5 separate regions of the Homo sapiens genome follow, and all the other regions are linked to region 4. Evidence: promoter capture Hi-C in 16 types of primary human blood cells and fetal thymus (Javierre and others, 2016). All regions are on one chromosome and are shown on one strand. Each heading gives the region's core, a stretch centred on a gene start or on the middle of the fragment in contact. The rest is flanking DNA. Distances are from core to core; before and after follow the strand shown.

The links. Contacts are between HindIII fragments. The CHiCAGO score rates a contact against its expected background, and 5 or more counts as called.
Region 1: a fragment that was not itself captured here is called in contact with the fragment with the promoter of NKX3-1 in region 4 in 2 of 17 cell types (neutrophils and erythroblasts); the score reaches 7.4 in neutrophils.
Region 2: a fragment that was not itself captured here is called in contact with the fragment with the promoter of NKX3-1 in region 4 in 2 of 17 cell types (naive CD8 T cells and M2 macrophages); the score reaches 5.5 in naive CD8 T cells.
Region 3: a fragment that was not itself captured here is called in contact with the fragment with the promoter of NKX3-1 in region 4 in 16 of 17 cell types (neutrophils, monocytes, M0 macrophages and 13 more); the score reaches 22.8 in neutrophils.
Region 5: a fragment that was not itself captured here is called in contact with the fragment with the promoter of NKX3-1 in region 4 in 13 of 17 cell types (M2 macrophages, M0 macrophages, M1 macrophages and 10 more); the score reaches 15.2 in M2 macrophages.

Annotation. Positions count from the first base shown.
Region 1 is chr8:23,435,727-23,439,264 of GRCh38, reverse strand. ENTPD4 (ectonucleoside triphosphate diphosphohydrolase 4) reads left to right here. Exons shown (of 13, transcript NM_004901.5): 10 at 2,007-2,331. Among named protein-coding and RNA genes, the nearest start is that of ENTPD4, 20 kb to the left of the region's middle. The HindIII fragment of the contact is 3,004 bases long and covers 665-3,538 here.
Region 2 is chr8:23,503,077-23,506,365 of GRCh38, reverse strand. No RefSeq gene overlaps it. Among named protein-coding and RNA genes, the nearest start is that of SLC25A37, 24 kb to the left of the region's middle. The HindIII fragment of the contact is 2,262 bases long and covers 823-3,084 here.
Region 3 is chr8:23,463,244-23,466,651 of GRCh38, reverse strand. The region is part of intron 2 of ENTPD4-DT (ENTPD4 divergent transcript); the gene reads right to left. Among named protein-coding and RNA genes, the nearest start is that of ENTPD4-DT, 7.2 kb to the right of the region's middle. The HindIII fragment of the contact is 5,931 bases long and covers 1-3,408 here.
Region 4 is chr8:23,681,028-23,684,746 of GRCh38, reverse strand. NKX3-1 (NK3 homeobox 1) reads left to right here and starts at 1,809. Exons shown (of 2, transcript NM_006167.4): 1 at 1,809-2,143; 2 at 3,108-3,719. The coding sequence starts at 1,858. The coding sequence ends at 3,526. The region is part of intron 3 of LOC107986930 (a long non-coding RNA gene); the gene reads right to left. RefSeq lists silencers at 1,628-2,137, 2,178-2,227. The HindIII fragment of the contact is 16,626 bases long and covers 1-3,719 here.
Region 5 is chr8:23,484,314-23,487,685 of GRCh38, reverse strand. The region is part of intron 3 of ENTPD4-DT (ENTPD4 divergent transcript); the gene reads right to left. Among named protein-coding and RNA genes, the nearest start is that of ENTPD4-DT, 28 kb to the right of the region's middle. The HindIII fragment of the contact is 255 bases long and covers 1,845-2,099 here.

The sequences.
Region 1 (3,538 bases), core at 917-3,416, 250 kb after region 4:
AAGAGAAATAAATTATCTAGAAGAGTCAGAGTTAGTGGCTTTTGAATTTAGCAATGAAGCTTTAAAAAATGAGTGTATGAAGAATTGTGGTATAGAAAATATATAAAACAAAACAGCACTCTATTGGTTTAAATTGACTGTATAAGTGTAAGTATATAGCACTTATTTATTTGAAATTTGTAAGAACATAAAAGCTATTTGGATAAATAAAAAAATCTGAATCTGGGGTTATGTAAGCTATCCTATTTATTACTGTGTTTTATTTGTTTATTTTGATGAAACAATTTTGAGGGAAAAAAATCCTAGTTCATAGAGCTAAGAGATTGTATACTTCCTTGATTAATGTAATCTTAATAAACCTGTGAAGGCCTGAACTTGAAAAAAGACCAAGTTGGAGCTATTCAGTACATTTACCACAAAGTCATGTGTGTAAATAGGAAAAGCAATAAAAACCTTTTCCTGTGTCTCTTCCAAAAGTTAACTGAATAGTTTTAATTATAAGATTGGTAGTCCCATGATTTTGTATTTTTAATTGGTATTTAGCACATTTTGGTATAATCATTTTTATAGTAGTCTTAAACTAGAAATATTTTATAGACAACATTTGTAACATATTTTTTCCGAAACCTTAATTTTTACTCATTGGTTTTAATGTCAGAAAGCTTTATATAATGGATAGTTTAGTGGTACTTCTTAATTTAGATATAGGACAACTAAAAATAATAGCATGAAATATATATTTGACTACTCTTGGACTTTTATAGTAATTACAGGTGTTTCATATGTCATGAATTGAGCATTGAAGTACACATTTATCTCTTCGCCATTTGTAGTGGTGATTAATTTTTTTAAATTAAGCGAACATTTTTATGGCAAAGACCTTAATTTATTACATTCAACTGCATGATGAGTAACCCTGATCTGAGGAATACACAACTTGTGAGTTGAGTGAAAAGTGAAAACTTGACTGTCGGTGATGAATATTGAATTCTGACCATGCTTAACCCTTTAACAGTTCAACACCTGTCAGGCCCCTGTGATTTCACAGTATCCAACACCAACATCACTTGAGATTTTGTGAGCTCTTCTCTGTTTCTTGTTGCTTGAAGGCATGCACACACAATAGGATGACAGATGTTAACTCCCAGAAATTTCATTAGCAAGTAATAAGCCTAGTGCCTTTCAGTTAACAAAATTAATGTTTATTTTCTACAGGGCATCTCAGAGCCCATTGTACAATGGAAACTGCTGTCTGCTGCAGTTGGGACCCATAGCTGATCAAGGAAAGAAATAAGTTGAAACAGAATGATAAAAATAGAGCCAAGCCTTAGACATTCTGTCTTAACTTCTGTATTCATTTGCTAATCTTTTCCTCTGAACCAAGGTCTGTTTTTAGACTCCATCCTTTCTTTGGCATGCACTGCACCCCTCATTGAGATACCAGTTTGTCTTTGTTTAAAGAATACTGAGGACTTAAAAGAGATTTGCAAGGCAATTTGATACCAAATCCTTCTAGATGTTTGCTAATTTTTCCCAGTTTTAAAAATCCTACCCACACCTAGTTTGATAATTTTCTAGTAACTTTTCTAAAGCATCTAACCTGCTTTGCCCAGGACCGGATCTTGTCACAGTCACGTTCCTTCCATCTGTATTAGGTAAAACCACAAGCACTAGTGCAAAAATGGGGCTGGTAACACAGTTGCCTTGTGCCCAGCAGCTGGGAACATCAGGCCTTGTTGCCAGGATCGTCGGCTAATCGGGTAGGTTATCCAACTGGACTCTGGTAGCCTGTCTGCTGCAGGCAAGTTTGTATCCTGACTCTCCAAGAAAGTCTCAAGTGTGTATTTTCCTAACTAATTATCTCGGAACCCTTTTCTGTTCCACAGACACGGTCCTGCAGGTCTCATGTCCCACAGAGCGTATTTTGAGAAACACTGGTTTGCAGCCACTTCCTGAAAACACAGTTTTCTGTAGGACTCACGATGAAGTTTCTTGTTTTGCCATAGGCTCCTGGGTAAACAGACTGGTCTGACTCCTGATATGCCGTACTTGGACCCCTGCCTACCCCTAGACATTAAAGATGAAATCCAGCAAAATGGACAAACCATATACCTACGAGGGACTGGAGACTTTGACCTGTGTCGAGAGACTATCCAGCCTTTCATGAATAAAACAAACGAGACCCAGACTTCCCTCAATGGGGTCTACCAGCCCCCAATTCACTTCCAGAACAGTGAATTCTATGGCTTCTCCGAATTCTACTACTGCACCGAGGATGTGTTACGAATGGGGGGAGACTACAATGCTGCTAAATTTACTAAAGCTGCAAAGGTACCCTTGAGAGACGCCGTCTGCTCTGCATGCTTTTGAGAGACCAGTGTGGACGGTGACGGGTTATGTCCTCCTTTCACATTGACAGGGAAAGACGGAGTATAGAAGGCTGCACTGCAGCATGTTGGGATCCTGTTCCCTTTGCTTGGAGGGAGGTTGAATAGTCACAGCAGAAGTAAAAAATGTACTGTACGCTGACTTCTGCACCACTCCATTAGCTACCCTGGTCATCAGTTAGCTCCAAATTACAGTCTTTTATGTCATTTTTGTGCTTTGCTGCATGTGACAATTCTCCTACTAGCCTTCCCCCTCCCTGACCTGCCAGGATACTCCTGTTCTTGTGTTCTCTCTGCCTTCCTGACACCCCTTAAACTTAGGTGATGCCAGACTTCCACACTTGGCCCCTGATCTTCAGGTTCTTGGATGGTCTCATCCATATTCAGGGTTTGCTGCTGCCTCTCAAGAAGAGGCTCCAATCCTGACCCCTGCCCGGTTGCCTGCTAGATTCCACAACTCCAGACAAACCCACCATCCTCTCTCCATTCTGTTCCTGTTCTTCTCTCGGTTAATGGCATCGCCAACCATCCAGTCCCCTTCCCTGCAGCCTAGGAGTCATGGACTTCTCCCTCTAACCATTTCATCTCTCCCTATACACCCCAGTGTAATCAGTCACAAGTGTGGTATTTTATCTTCCAAGTATTTCTCAAACCCATCTCGAAGCGCAGAGCACTGTATGCTGTAATCATGTCAGACAGCTGGCTTCCCTCACGCTCTCCGCGACTTCTCTGTGTCCATGTCCATGTTCCTGAAGTGCCTATGCCGAGCCCGTTCCCCAGGCCAAGTGCTTTTTCCTTGTGCTCCCTGTCACACACCCAGGCCCATCTCCCACCTCTCAGCAGTGTCTTCATCCTTTAAATAGAGGTCGGGATGGTAGCCACCTCGAGGAGTTAAGTATTACATTGAGAAGACACACTTACACAATGCTCAATAAAAGTTATTATAACAAATAACTTCAAGAAAAGTGGGATCTCTTTCCCTTCTGTTAAAGACAAAAACCTTTTGCAGTTATTATCCCAGTAGCTTGTACTGTGTCCTCCACAGATGTAGGACTTAGTTTGAAGTAGCTAAAATACTGCTTCACTTTTCCAAAAATGTATGCCCGTACCATGCAGTCATGGAGGGAGAAACTAAACAGTTTTGGAGAGGT
Region 2 (3,289 bases), core at 704-3,203, 180 kb after region 4:
CAGAAGTTTGAGCCCAGCCTGGGCTACCGAGGGAGACTCCATCTCTACCAAAATCAAAAATAAATATTAGCTGGGAGTGGTGGTGCATGCCTGCGGTCCTAGCTACTTGGGAGGCTGAGATGAGAGGATCTCTTAAGCCTGGGAGGTCCATGCTGCAGTGAGCCATGATTGTGCCTCTGCACTCCAGCCTAGGTGACAGAGCAAGACCTTGTCTCAAACTTCAAAAAAATAAAAAACCGGCCACCCCTCCCAAATACAGTGCTGTTTATCTAAGTGATGGAGGAGAGAGTGGTAGTATATTTAAGATAACCTAAAACTAACTTTTTGAGAATTTTTTAAACTTTCCATAATCCTTAAAAAATAACAGTTTTCTTATTACAAATGTGGTAGACAAACATTGTGGAAATTTTAGAAAATGCAGATAAGAAAAAAGAACAAGCTAAAAGTCACTGATAATTTCGTTCCCAAGAGATAGGACTGTGAACGTACAATGCATCCTTCCAGTCTTTTATATTTTAAATTATTTTTGATTGAAAAAGAGATACACAAATACATGCCCCTTTTAAACAAAAGCAGGCATCATATACAAAACTAAATTACCCATTGACCACCTCCCACAGTTCCAAACCCTTCCCTGCTATTCTGGTGCCCAACCGCTCTTGGGAGTTTGAAGTGTTTCCTTCCAGAATTTCATATGCATTCATGTATATATATGTATACACATATATAATTTCACATATAAATAATATATATAAGGATTTTTGTGTGTTGAATAACATTCCATTATATGGATATACCATATTTTATTTGACCTCTTAAGCTTTTAGCGGACAGTTAATATCATTAACAACTTTTCACTACTACAAACAACACTGCAGTAAACGTCTGTGTTTTCCCTTTCTCTATTCTAAATTCCTGTGAGAGGAAATTGTGGGTCTGAGGTATGCCCAAATTGTCCTCGCCATTTTAAATATGAAAACAGAGTATGAACGTTCCTGTTCCCCTGCGATCTTGACAACCCTTCACCTACCAGATCTTTCAAGGTAGCCAGCTGAGTAAGTGTAAACAGTATCTCGCCATTGTTTTCATTGGTATTTGCCTGATAAAAAATGTGTTTGAGCATCTTCTTATGTGTTTGTGGCCATGTGTATTTCCCCTTTTGTGAATTGCCTATGCATATCCACAGATCATTTTTCTTTCTTCTTCTTTTTTTTTTTTTTGAGACGGAGTCTCGATCCATTGCCCAGGGTGAAGTACAATGGTGAGATCTCCACTCATTGCAACCTCCGCCTCCCAGGTTCATGCAATTCTCGTGCCTCAGCCTCCCGAGTAGCTGGGATTACAGGTGCCCACCACTACGCCCAGCTAATTTTTGTATTTTTAGTAGAGACAGGGTTTCACCATGTTGGTCAGGCTAGTCTTGAACTCCTTACCTCAGGTGATCCACCAGCCTCGGCCTCCCAAAGTGCTGGGATTACTGGTGTAAGCCACTGTGCCCATCCCTTAGATCATTTTTCTAAAGGGCTTTTTTAAAAATTCATCTGTTTTACTCATTCTTTGAAACATACATTGCAAAGTTTTCTCCCAGCCCTCAGCTTGTCTTTAACATTGGGGTATCTTATTGTATGGTTCCTTTTTTACTATTTGGATGACATTTATTCACTGACCTAATTAAAATGTTCAGCCTTTTACTGCATGAGTTTTATTTTCTGTGACTTATTTAAGATCTCCATTTACTTGGGATCATAGTATTTTCTTATACATTTTTAGCTAACAATTTGAAATTTTTATATTGAAGGGCTAGGTTTTTAATTCATCTGTAGTATAATTTTGTGTACCACATAAGGTAGCGACTTAGTTTTATTTATTTTGTGTACACAGAGTTGATTCTGTCAATACCACTTATTTATTTATTTATTTATTTATTTATTTTTATTTTTATTTTTTTGGAGACGGAGTCTCAATCTGTTGCCCAGGCTGGAGTGTAATGGCGTGATCTCGGCTCACTGCAACCTCCGCCTCCCGGGCTCAAGTGATGATCCTGCCTCAGCCTCCCGAGTAGCTGGGATTACAGGCGCCTGCCACCATGCCAGACTAATTTTTGTATTTTTAGTAGAGATGGGGTTTCACCATGTTGGCCAGGCTGGTCTTGAACCCCCGACCTCAGGTAATCCACCCGCCTCAGTCTCCCAAAGTGCTGGGATTACAGGCATGAGCCACCACACCCGGCCAATACCATTTATTAAATAGTCCATATTCCCTCACTGATTCGAAACGTTGCCTGCATCACATTCCATTTTTGTAGTGTTGTTTCTGGATTTTTTTTTTTGGAATAATGTTTTATTGACCTAATTCTATTCTAATATTACAACAAAATGGGGCTAATTTAACTGCCCTACAGCACGAAAATGTGTGTGTGTGTTTACATCCTGCTTCTGTCTTATAACCTGCTATTTTTACTGAAAAACTGCAACAGGAGAATAGAGTGATTCTGGTAGTCACACAATGGAATATTACATAGCAATGAAAAGAAACCAAATCTTAGTATATCAACATGGATATATTTCCCAAGTAAAGAATTGAGTGTAAAAAACAAATTGTGTTAAAATGTCAGGGTGCCATTTACATACTGGTTTAAAATCTGTAAGGCAATATTTCACACAGTTTAGAAATATATATGCGGGCTGGGCACAGTGGCTCATGCCTGTAATCCCAGCACTTTGGGAGGCTGAGGTGGGCGGATCACTTGAGAAGTTTGAGACTAGCCCGGGCAACATGGTAAAAACCCCCGTCTCTACTAAAAACACAAAAATTAGCTGGGTGTGGTGGCGCACGCCTGTAGTCCCACCTAGTTGGGAGGGTGAGGCAGGAGAATCGCTTGAACCCAGGAGGCAGAGGTTGCAGTGAGCCAAGATCATGCCACTGCACTCCAACCTGCACAACAGAGTGAGAATCTGTCTCAAAAGAAAAAACGAAAGAAATATGCAAAAAAAAAAAAAAAAAAAAACCTAAAAGAAAATTCATGCAAATGAGAGAAACCAAAGTCAGAATTAGAGGTAGATTTACCATGAAGCATATGAAGCTTAAGCTCAGACCCCTTACATACATGATCCCTTTCAAGGTCCTATACTTAAATTTGATTTCTTAATTTTTTTTTTTTTTTGAGACAGAATCTCACTCTGTCACCCAAGCTGGAGCATAGTGGCATGATCTCAGCTCACTGCAACCTCTGCCTCCCAAGTTCAAACAATTCTCCTGCCTCAGCCTCCCGAGTAGTTTTTTTTTTTTT
Region 3 (3,408 bases), core at 150-2,649, 220 kb after region 4:
ATATGTATACACATAACATTACTGAAGTGTACACTTAAAAATGATCAAGATGGGCAGGGTGCGGTGGCTCACGCCTGTAATCCCAGCACTTTGGGAGGTTGGAGCATGAGGATCATTTGAGCCCAGGAGTTTGAGGTTACAGTGAGCTACTATTGTACCACTGTACTCCAGCCTGGGTGACAGAGACTCTGTCTCTAAATAAATAAATAAATAAATAAATAAATTTAAGATGGTAAATTTTATGTTATGTGTATTTTACCACAATTTTTTTTAACAAAAGAGGAATCCTTCCTCCTCTTCACATTTATCGTTCTCTTTGTGTCTTCAGTCACATCTCATGCCACCTCTTCCAGGAGGTTTATTCATTCCTTCTGCGTTCTCCACTCTGGGATTGCCACAAACATTTGGAGGGTCAGGGCTAAGAGGACACACCCATGTTTTAAGATGTTTAAAATGATAAATTCAGATAAACTAGTAAATCAAATGTTATAGCCCCTCTAATTTTTACTTTTTTGCATTTATTTTTAAATCTATATATTAAATCTATATATCTTTGTAACAACAACATGGAAAAGTCTGTAATACTGTGGTTTCTGTAAGACTGAAAGTCAGGCAAGTATCAAGGCTCAAGCTCTGTCCTGAAGCCCCACACTCCCCACTCATCCTCCCAGCTGCTCAGGCCAGCCCACAGCCTTGGGCAACAGCAGAGGCTTCTACAGTCAAGGCCATAGGGCTACATTTTCCTGGGGTAGCTACAGAGCTGCTTCTAGGGCGTGGGACCTGTGCAGTCAGTCACAGATGGCTGGCACTTAGAAAAGCCCTGCACTGATCGGATCATGAGGTCAGGAGTTCGAGACCAGCCTGACCAACATAGTGAAACCCCATCTCTACTAAAAATACAAAAATTAGCCAGGCATGGTGGCACGTGCCTGTAGTCCCAGCTGCTCGGGAGGCTGAGGCAGAAGAATTGCTTGAACCCGGGAGGCAGAGGTTGCAGTGAGCCGAGATCACACCACTGCACTCCAGCCTGAGCAACAAGAGTGAAACTCCATCTCAAAAAAAAAAAAAAAGAAAAGAAAAGAAAAGAAGGCACAATTGGGAAACAAGCAAATAGTCCATTAAACATGTTAGAACACAGCGAAAATATATATAGGGAAGTGTCTGGACATCAGGCTTAAAAGTTGAAAGCAACTTAACCATGGCCTTGGGGTGTCATGCCAAGGAGACTAGTGTGAAGCCATCCTGTCCATGACATCTGGTCACCTCATCGATTTGCAGTTGATTTGCTCAGGAATTTCAACCTTAACTTAAAGGTGATGGTGCAGTAGGGAAGGATGGTGAGAGGAAGAATGGTATGTTATCTGGTGTGAGAAAGGAACAGAGAGAGGTTTAAGGTGTCCAATAAACTACCCACTGCTTCCTGCTTAAGTCTGAATAATTTTAGAAATGAAACAAAAACTATATGAAAACCTGTGAAAGGAAAATATCTTGGGGCCCCAAAATCACTAAGCCAAAGGGAAAATTCAAGCTGGAAACTGCTCAGGGCAAACCTGCCTCCCATTCTACTCAAAGTCATCCCTCTGCTCACTGACATAGAGGCATATTCTGATTGCCTCCTTTAGAAAGGCTTATCAGAAACTCAAAAGAATGCAACCCCTTTTCTCTCACCTACCAGTGATCTGGAAGACCCCTCCTTGCTTTGAGTTGTCCCCACCTTTCTGGATGGAACCAATGTATGTCTTACATATATTGATTGATGTCTCATGTCTCCCTAAAATGTATAAAATGAAGCGGTGCCCCAGCCACCTTGGGCACATGGCGTCAGGATTTCCTGAGGCTGTGCCATGGGCGCACATCCTCAACCTTGGCAAAATAAACTTTCTAAATTAACTGAGACTTGTCTCTGATTTTCTGGGTTTACAAACCAAAGTATCATCTTTATCACAGATGAAGCTGATATTGAAAAATGGAGCTTTTATCTAATCAGAACAACATTGACTCGTGCCAGTCATCATGATCAGGAGACAAAATTACCTTGCTTAACCAGGCCAGGGTCATAATTTCTGACCCAAATGGACCAAATATGACCTGAGTATATTCCTTCAGAAATCTGAGGTACTGTTACCAAAACTAGAGTGATGGGGCCCGAGCAGCAAAAGCAACTATGTCTGCTGCCTACGTGTGTGTGTGTTTTGTGTGTGTGTGTGTGTGTGCATGTGTTTGTGTGTTCAATTACCCATCTCCCATGTGACTCCTTTATGGTACAGTTTGATCACTCTGCTTTGATGAGAAAAGTTTGGAGTAAACCCAGGATTTAGGGCCAGACGTTGTGGCTCACGCCTGTAATCCAAGCACTTTGGGAGGCCAAGGCGGACAGATCACCTGAGGTCGGGAGTTCGAAACCAGCCTGACCAACATAGAGAAACCCCGTCTCTACTAAAAATACATAACAATTAGCCCAGCGTGGTGGCGCATGCCTGTAATCCCAGCTACTCGGGAGGCTGAGGCAGGAGAATCGCTTGAACCCAGAAGGCAGAGGTTATGGTGAGCCAAGATCGCGCCATTGCACTCCAGCCTGGACAACAAGAGTGAAACTTGGTCTCAAAAAATAAATAAATAAATAATTTTTAAAAAAATTTGGAGGAAACCCTGGATTTTGATGTTGCTTTGAACAAGTCACTTTCTCTTTCTCTCCACAACAAAACACCATGAAATAAAAATCCCTTTGCCTTAGGAATGCTGGGCTCATAAATGAGACCATGCCTGTAAAGTGACATGATTTCCTGAAGACAAAGGCTGTGTAAATATATAGGATTATTAGCCAAGCCACTCAAAAATAGTCTGTGCATGAATGTCTTGGAAAGCAAACAGGTCCAAGGAAGAGTAAGAGAACTCCCCATTTCCAAGCGCTGCAGGATTCCTTTGTTTCCTGACATCTAGCATGGTTACCTTCCCCAAACACCCACACACAGCCAGGAGGGACAGGTGAGCCAATTTAGCTTCCTTGGAATGATGGATTAAAACATTTGGAGAGCAGAATTTCAAGCAATTGCCATGTTAGAGGGTTTTCTAGAAAGATAATTAAAGAGAAATCATAATTGGGTTTTAGATATTGATGGTTGTTCATCTGCCCTACTCCATTCATCAACATTCCCATATACACTGTTACAAAGAAATCTCAAGTTCAACAAGAGAAGGAAAGAGGTCTTCTATCTTATGTTTGATTTTTTTTTTTTTAAGTTTTCTTTGGAGACAGGATCTTGCTCTGTCACCCAGGATGGAGTGCAGTGGTGCGATCACAGCTCACTGCAGCCTCAAACTCCTGGGCTCGAGCAATCCTCCCACTTTCACCTCCCAAAGTGCTGGGATTATAGGCATGAGCCCCTGTGCCTGGTCCTTATGTTTTGT
Region 4 (3,719 bases), core at 560-3,059:
TCTCCTGAGCCCAGGAGGTTGAAGTTGCAGTGAGCCATGATCTCTCCACTGCACTCCAGCCTGGGCAACAGAGCAAGACCCTATCTCTAAATAAATAAATAAATGACGTCTGTAGTCTAGTTAACTGTAATGTCCCAACGTAAATTTCCTGTTTTCTACATTGTCCTACAGTTGTATAGATGTCTTTGGAGGACACTGGAGGTATTATTTTTGCAACTTCCTGTGAATCTACAATGATTCAAAAGAAAACATTAAAGAATGTTCTAATATAAAGAGACTTTGAAAAGATGAGAGAAGAAAACCAGCTTTGCCAAAGTCTTTCCCGTTGCACAGGTAGTTTTCTTTGGCGGTCGCTTTATCAGCAATAACCTATTAACTTTCCTTCCTCCAGAGACACATGACATACCATCCTTTTGAAAAGTTGCCAGTTGAATAGAAGCCGTCTTAGACCAGGACAGACAAAAAAGTTGCATTAAAAAAATGGTTCTAAAAAACATCAGCCTACCCTTTTTCCAGATTACCAACTGTTACCATTTAACCCATCGGCTTTATGGCGTGGGATCTATCAATCTGCATCCTTGTTTCAGAACCATTTGATGTAAGTTTCATAAATCTTGTGCCTTTGCTCCTACTTACTTCAGTGTTTATTTCCTAAAAATATTCTCTTGTACACTGACAGTACAATGTGCAATTTCAGTAAATTTAACATTAATTCAATACTTCCATCATCGACCTGACACTGAGACTCATGCCTGTAGTCCTGGCACTTTGAGAGGCCAAGGCAGGAGGATCACTTGAATCCAGGAAATCGAGGCTGCAGTGAGTTATGATGGCATCACTGCACTCCAGCCTGGGCGGCAGAGGGAGACCCTGTCCGTAAAAAAAAGAAGAGAAAAGACAAGGAAAGAAAATACTTCCATCATCTCTGTTCCACTTTCGTCTGTTGTCACGGTACCGTCCAGTCCAGTCACAGTACCGGTTGGACCAATCTGGCTAACCCATTGTTTAGCCAATGGGTTACATGTTAACAGTTGGTAATCTGCAAAAAGAGTATGCTGATGTTCTTTTGAACTACTTTTTTAAATGCAGTTTTTGCATTTGTCCTGGCCTAAAACGCCTTCCATCCGTCTGGAAACTTTTCAAAAGGATGGTATGTCATGTGTCTGGGGAGGAAGGAAAGTTAACAGGTTATTGCGGATAAAGGAACCACCAAAGAAAACCACTTCTGCAACGGGAAAAGGCTTTGGCAAAGGTGTTTTCCTTCTTTCAGCCTGGGGTCTGGCTGCACCTACTTGTCATGCCTCTTTGAGGTCGTAGATATTGCAGATCTGAGTTTGCACCATCTCTCCCAGAGAGAGAGAGCACCCAGAACTCTCACGGTACCGCGCGGCTGCAGTGACTGCGTGCTCATCCCCTGTAATTGGCTCTGACGGTCCTGAAGAGCTAACTGGACTGTTTGTCTTGATCGTCCCATCCCCAGGAGCTTCTCTCTGTTGCGGGTGGGTTGGGGCAGAGGAGCCCCGCTTTGGGGTGCGCTCCTGGCCTGGGAAAACGGCTCAGGGCGGAGGGAGGAGAGCTGGAGAAGGAGAGGAAATTGGGGAAGGAGAGGGAATTGGGGAAGGAGAGGGAACTGGGGAAGGAATCCCCTAGGGAGGAGCGGAGCGGGGCAGTGCTCAGGGCTCGCAGATCGGCGGGGTCACCTGGGGCTCAGGGCGGCCAATCCGCGGCGCGGCCCGTCCCGCGGCCAATGGGAGGGCGGCGCGGCCCGCTCCCCTGGGCTATAAGCGAGCCGGGAGGCGGAAAGTGAAAGCGGTGCGGGCCGGGCGGGTGCATTCAGGCCAAGGCGGGGCCGCCGGGATGCTCAGGGTTCCGGAGCCGCGGCCCGGGGAGGCGAAAGCGGAGGGGGCCGCGCCGCCGACCCCGTCCAAGCCGCTCACGTCCTTCCTCATCCAGGACATCCTGCGGGACGGCGCGCAGCGGCAAGGCGGCCGCACGAGCAGCCAGAGACAGCGCGACCCGGAGCCGGAGCCAGAGCCAGAGCCAGAGGGAGGACGCAGCCGCGCCGGGGCGCAGAACGACCAGCTGAGCACCGGGCCCCGCGCCGCGCCGGAGGAGGCCGAGACGCTGGCAGAGACCGAGCCAGGTAAGCGGCGAGGCCGGGGAAGGGGGGCAGCCCAAGGCGGACCCCCAGAGCTCGGGGTGCAGGGACGCGGGGCTCCGCGGCGACAGGCAGAGGGACCTTCCCGCCTCCGCAGCCACGCGCGCGCCCCCGGAATGAACCCTGAGCCCCAGCGTCAGGGCGGCGCAGGATTCTGACACCGCAGGACTCGCCCGGCTCCGTGCCCTCCGCTCCCTGGGGCTCAGAAGCCGGCGCGACTGCAGCGCCACCGCCCTCCACCGTCCCAGGAGCGGATCCCGCCCCGCGCCACCCGCGATCGGCGCCAGCCCCCCGGTAGTTATGAGAACTAATAATAACTTATTAACAGTGACAAAGCAGGGGTTGACCAGCAAAGCCTCCGTGTGCTTCCCAATCCCGTGGGCAGTAAAGCGGTATATTCGGGGTTCCCTCCGGTGTCCAGGAGAGAGAGTCCACTTATTTTCTTTCCTGTCACTTCTGATGAGGCGACCGAACGCCTCGTTTAGCGAAGAGGGAATTAAAGCCCAGAATGAGCCTGCCTCTGCGTCTCCAGTGGCACAAGCCCTCTCTTGCCCACCTGGATCCTAACACCGGATGTCTTTTGGTCTGGCCTTCCCGGGTATCTTGTTCCACGGCATTTTCCCTGCCTCCCTCTCCCGCCTCTCCTCAGCACACAGATCCAGAATCCCCATATAATTCTACTAGACAGTAGGGAGAAAGTTCAACCACGAAACGTCTCTAACTTTGGGTTCTTGATGATTCTTAGCAAATGAATGCGTAATAAACATATTTACTCACTCTTCACTCCGGAGAGCTCCTTAGTCATGTGAAAAAAGTGAAATGTATCCACGATGACAGTGGGCTGTTTGTTCACTCACTAAAGAGATAAGGGTGGATTGAATTCTGTTCTCTTCCCTGCTAACATGTAACTTTTGTCTTCCCATCCCTCCTTCCCCACTCTCCTTTCCAGAAAGGCACTTGGGGTCTTATCTGTTGGACTCTGAAAACACTTCAGGCGCCCTTCCAAGGCTTCCCCAAACCCCTAAGCAGCCGCAGAAGCGCTCCCGAGCTGCCTTCTCCCACACTCAGGTGATCGAGTTGGAGAGGAAGTTCAGCCATCAGAAGTACCTGTCGGCCCCTGAACGGGCCCACCTGGCCAAGAACCTCAAGCTCACGGAGACCCAAGTGAAGATATGGTTCCAGAACAGACGCTATAAGACTAAGCGAAAGCAGCTCTCCTCGGAGCTGGGAGACTTGGAGAAGCACTCCTCTTTGCCGGCCCTGAAAGAGGAGGCCTTCTCCCGGGCCTCCCTGGTCTCCGTGTATAACAGCTATCCTTACTACCCATACCTGTACTGCGTGGGCAGCTGGAGCCCAGCTTTTTGGTAATGCCAGCTCAGGTGACAACCATTATGATCAAAAACTGCCTTCCCCAGGGTGTCTCTATGAAAAGCACAAGGGGCCAAGGTCAGGGAGCAAGAGGTGTGCACACCAAAGCTATTGGAGATTTGCGTGGAAATCTCAGATTCTTCACTGGTGAGACAATGAAACAACAGAGACAGTGAAAGTTTTAATACCTAAG
Region 5 (3,372 bases), core at 723-3,222, 200 kb after region 4:
CAGGGCTCAATTTCCCCAGCTATAAAATGGGCATGACATACCCAATCCACGTGGTTTGACAATGTAATAAGATACTGCATGCCTGACGTGCCTCATCAGTATTAAATTATTTTTGTTGTAGTTATTTTTGTAATGGGGGGGTAGGCTTACTGGGCACCAAGATGGGGCAGGAAAAGAAACAATGAAAACATAATGGAAAGACATGGTAAAGCACAGGGACACCACGCTGGCCACCAACCCTGAGACTGGAGAGCACCGTGGGACTGCTATAGGTCCTGGTGGTTCTGAAGGAGAAGGTGAGGCAGACAGAGGAGGAAGAAAGCAATGTGGAAAGCCTTAAGCTCCTTAACCTGTAATTAGTCTGTGAACTCCACCCTGGCACCAAGGTGAAATGGGCGGGGCCACTATTCCCTTTTCCTCCCACACCCTCCTGCCACGCTGATTATCCCTTCAGGCAACTACAAGGCAATAGTGTTTGCCTTGACCTGGCTTTGCTGCATACCTCTAGATGTGACTTCCAGACCACAGACCCCTCCCAGCAATTGATGCTACCCTGGAAGCTGGCTCCTCCAGGATGCCCAGATCATAACTCGCTACCAGCTCACCAAGATTCAGCTGGGCCAAGGAGATAAGAAGGCCCATGCGAGCCACTGGTGTGGGGCAGGTCGCTCTGCTGGGTGGACTGGGTGGGCCACCAAGCTGAAGAGATGTTGACAAGCTATGGGGGCAGAATTCTCCTCTCACCCCTGGAAAAAAAATAATGGCAAAGGGATAAAATGGTTGCAAGGTACTTTTAAGAAATCTCCTCCCAGGGGTCAACAACCAAGGTGCTAATGCCTAGGTGAGCTCAGAAAACAGCTTCTGGCCGCGTGGCCCTGGCTGACAGGTGAGGTTTGGCAGGCGTTTCTTCCAACTCCTGAAGCAGGCCCCCTTCCAGGTGTTAATCCTGTGCCTTCTACCTGCACTCAGTGAAGCTCTGCTTATCCCTGATAATAAGCAGTGAGATAATGATCACAATGGAGGCATCTGACATTTTAATGGAGGCAGAATAAGAAGGAAACCAGTAGGAATGAGGAAATTGGCTTTGGGATCCACAAGGCTTGGTTTTGGGTTCCAGGGACCACTTTTCCCTGGACTTCGCACATGAGACTCTGCAGTAAGGGGGCAGATAATACAATTCATTTCAATAATTTAACACCAAAATGCTCTTCTCTAAGAAATGTGCAGGGCGGCTGGGCCCAGGGGCTCACGCCTGTAATCCCAGCACTTTGGGAGGCTGACGCAGGTGGATCACCTGAGGTCAGGAGTTCAAGACCATCCTGGCCAACATGGTAAAGCCCCGTCTCTATTAAAAAAAAAAAAATACAAAAATTAGCCAGGGGTAGTGGCGGATGCTTGTAATCCCAGCTACTCGGGAGGCTGAGGCAGGAGAATTGCTTGAACACAGGTGGTGAAGGTTGCAGTGAGCAGAGATCGCGCCAGTGCACTCCAGCCTGGGCAACAGAGCAAGACTCCGTCGAAAGAAAGCAAATAAAGAAAGAAAGGAAAGAAAGAAAGGAAAGGAAGGGAGGGAAGGGAGGGAAGGGAAGAAAGGGAAGGAAGGGAAAGAAGGGAGAAAGGGAGAAAGAGAGTCAGGGAGGGAGGGAAGGAGGGAGGAAGGAAGGAAGGTGGGTCCAGGGCATGTTCTAGGCCTTACTTCTTCCATTCTCAGACCTCTCCTGGGAGTTTCAGGGAATTCACTTTGGCCAGTTGACTTTGATTGAGTACATCCTATGTCCCTAGCAGTGCGCCTGGTGTTAGGGACACGACCCGGAATACAATCCATTCCCCACCCTTAAGAAGCTTTTAATCTAGTGGGAGAGAAAATAATCATACCTATTTTACAGATGAAGAAACTGAAACTTTAAGATTCTGATATCATTAAAATATTCATGTTTTTTCTTTCATTCATTTATTTAGAAAATTTTTATTGAGTCCACGTGATGTGCCAGGCACTCCTTGAGGTGCTGCAGGCTGACACAGGGAAAAGTCGGGCACCTTCTGCCCACATGAGACACCTATACAGACAACAACAAATATGTATTTTGTGCACAGAAGCTTTATGACTTTTGTCCAAGTCACTTCAATTTCATCCTTTAAATGTCATTCAGTGGATAATGGGAAGCTATAATTGGAGTGTGTATATGAAATACAGAGGTGTACACACACACACACACACACACACACACACACACACACACGCTACTGAAACTGCTGCCCCAGATCTCAGGGAGGTACAGGAAGAAGGGTACCTGGAGAATGATGGCTGGAGAATGATATAAGAAAGTCACGTCCAAGCCGGGCGCAGTGGCTCATGCTGGTAATCCCAGCACTTTGAGAGGCCGAGGCAGGCAGATCACTTGAGGTCAGGGGTTTGAGACCAGCCTGGCCAACATGGCGAAACCCCATCTCTACTAAAAATAAAAGATTAGGCCCAGCGCGGTGACTCACGCCTATAATCCTAGAACTTTGGGAGGCCGAGGCGGGCTAATCAGGAGGTTAAGAGATCGAGACCATCCTGGCCAACGGTGAAACCCCGTCTCTACTAAAAATACAAAACTTAGCTGGGTGTGGTGGTGCGCGCCTGTAGTCCTAGCTGCTCGGGAGGCTGAGGCAGGAGAATCACTTGAGCCCAGGAGACAGAGGTTGCAGTGAGCCAAGATGGCACCACTGCACTCCAGCCTGGCAACAGAGCAAGACTCCATTTCAAAAAAAAACAAAAACAGGCCAGGCGCAGTGGCTCACGCCTATAATCCCAACACTTTGGAAGGCCGAGGCTGGGGGATCATCTGAGGTCAGGAGTTCGAGACCAGCCTGACCAACATGGAGAAACCCCATCTCTACTAAAAATACAAAATTAGCTGGGCATGGTGGCGCATGCCTGTAATTCCAGCTACTCAGGAAGGCTGAGGCAGGAGAATTGCTTGAACCCGGGAGGTGGAGGTTGTGGTGAGCCAAGATCGCACCACTGTAATCTAGCCTGGGCAACAAGAGCAAATCTCAGTCTCAAAAAAACAAAAAACAAAAAACAAAAACAAGCAAACAAAAATTAGCCAGGCATGGTGGCGCATGCCAGTAATCCCAGCTACTCAGGAGGCTGAGGCAGGAGAATTGCTTGAACCCAGGAGGCAGAAGTTGCAATAAGCCGAGATCGCGATCGCACCACTGCATTCCAGCCTGGGGAAAAAAAAAAAAAAGTCATGTCCACCTTAAATAATGGGCTGGTTCCTGCAGGAGGAGAAGACAGCATTACAGGCTAGAGTTCAAGTGGAGGGTTAAGACATCAAGACAGGGTTAAGAGCAAGGACTTGGAGCTAGTCAGTTAGATCTGCC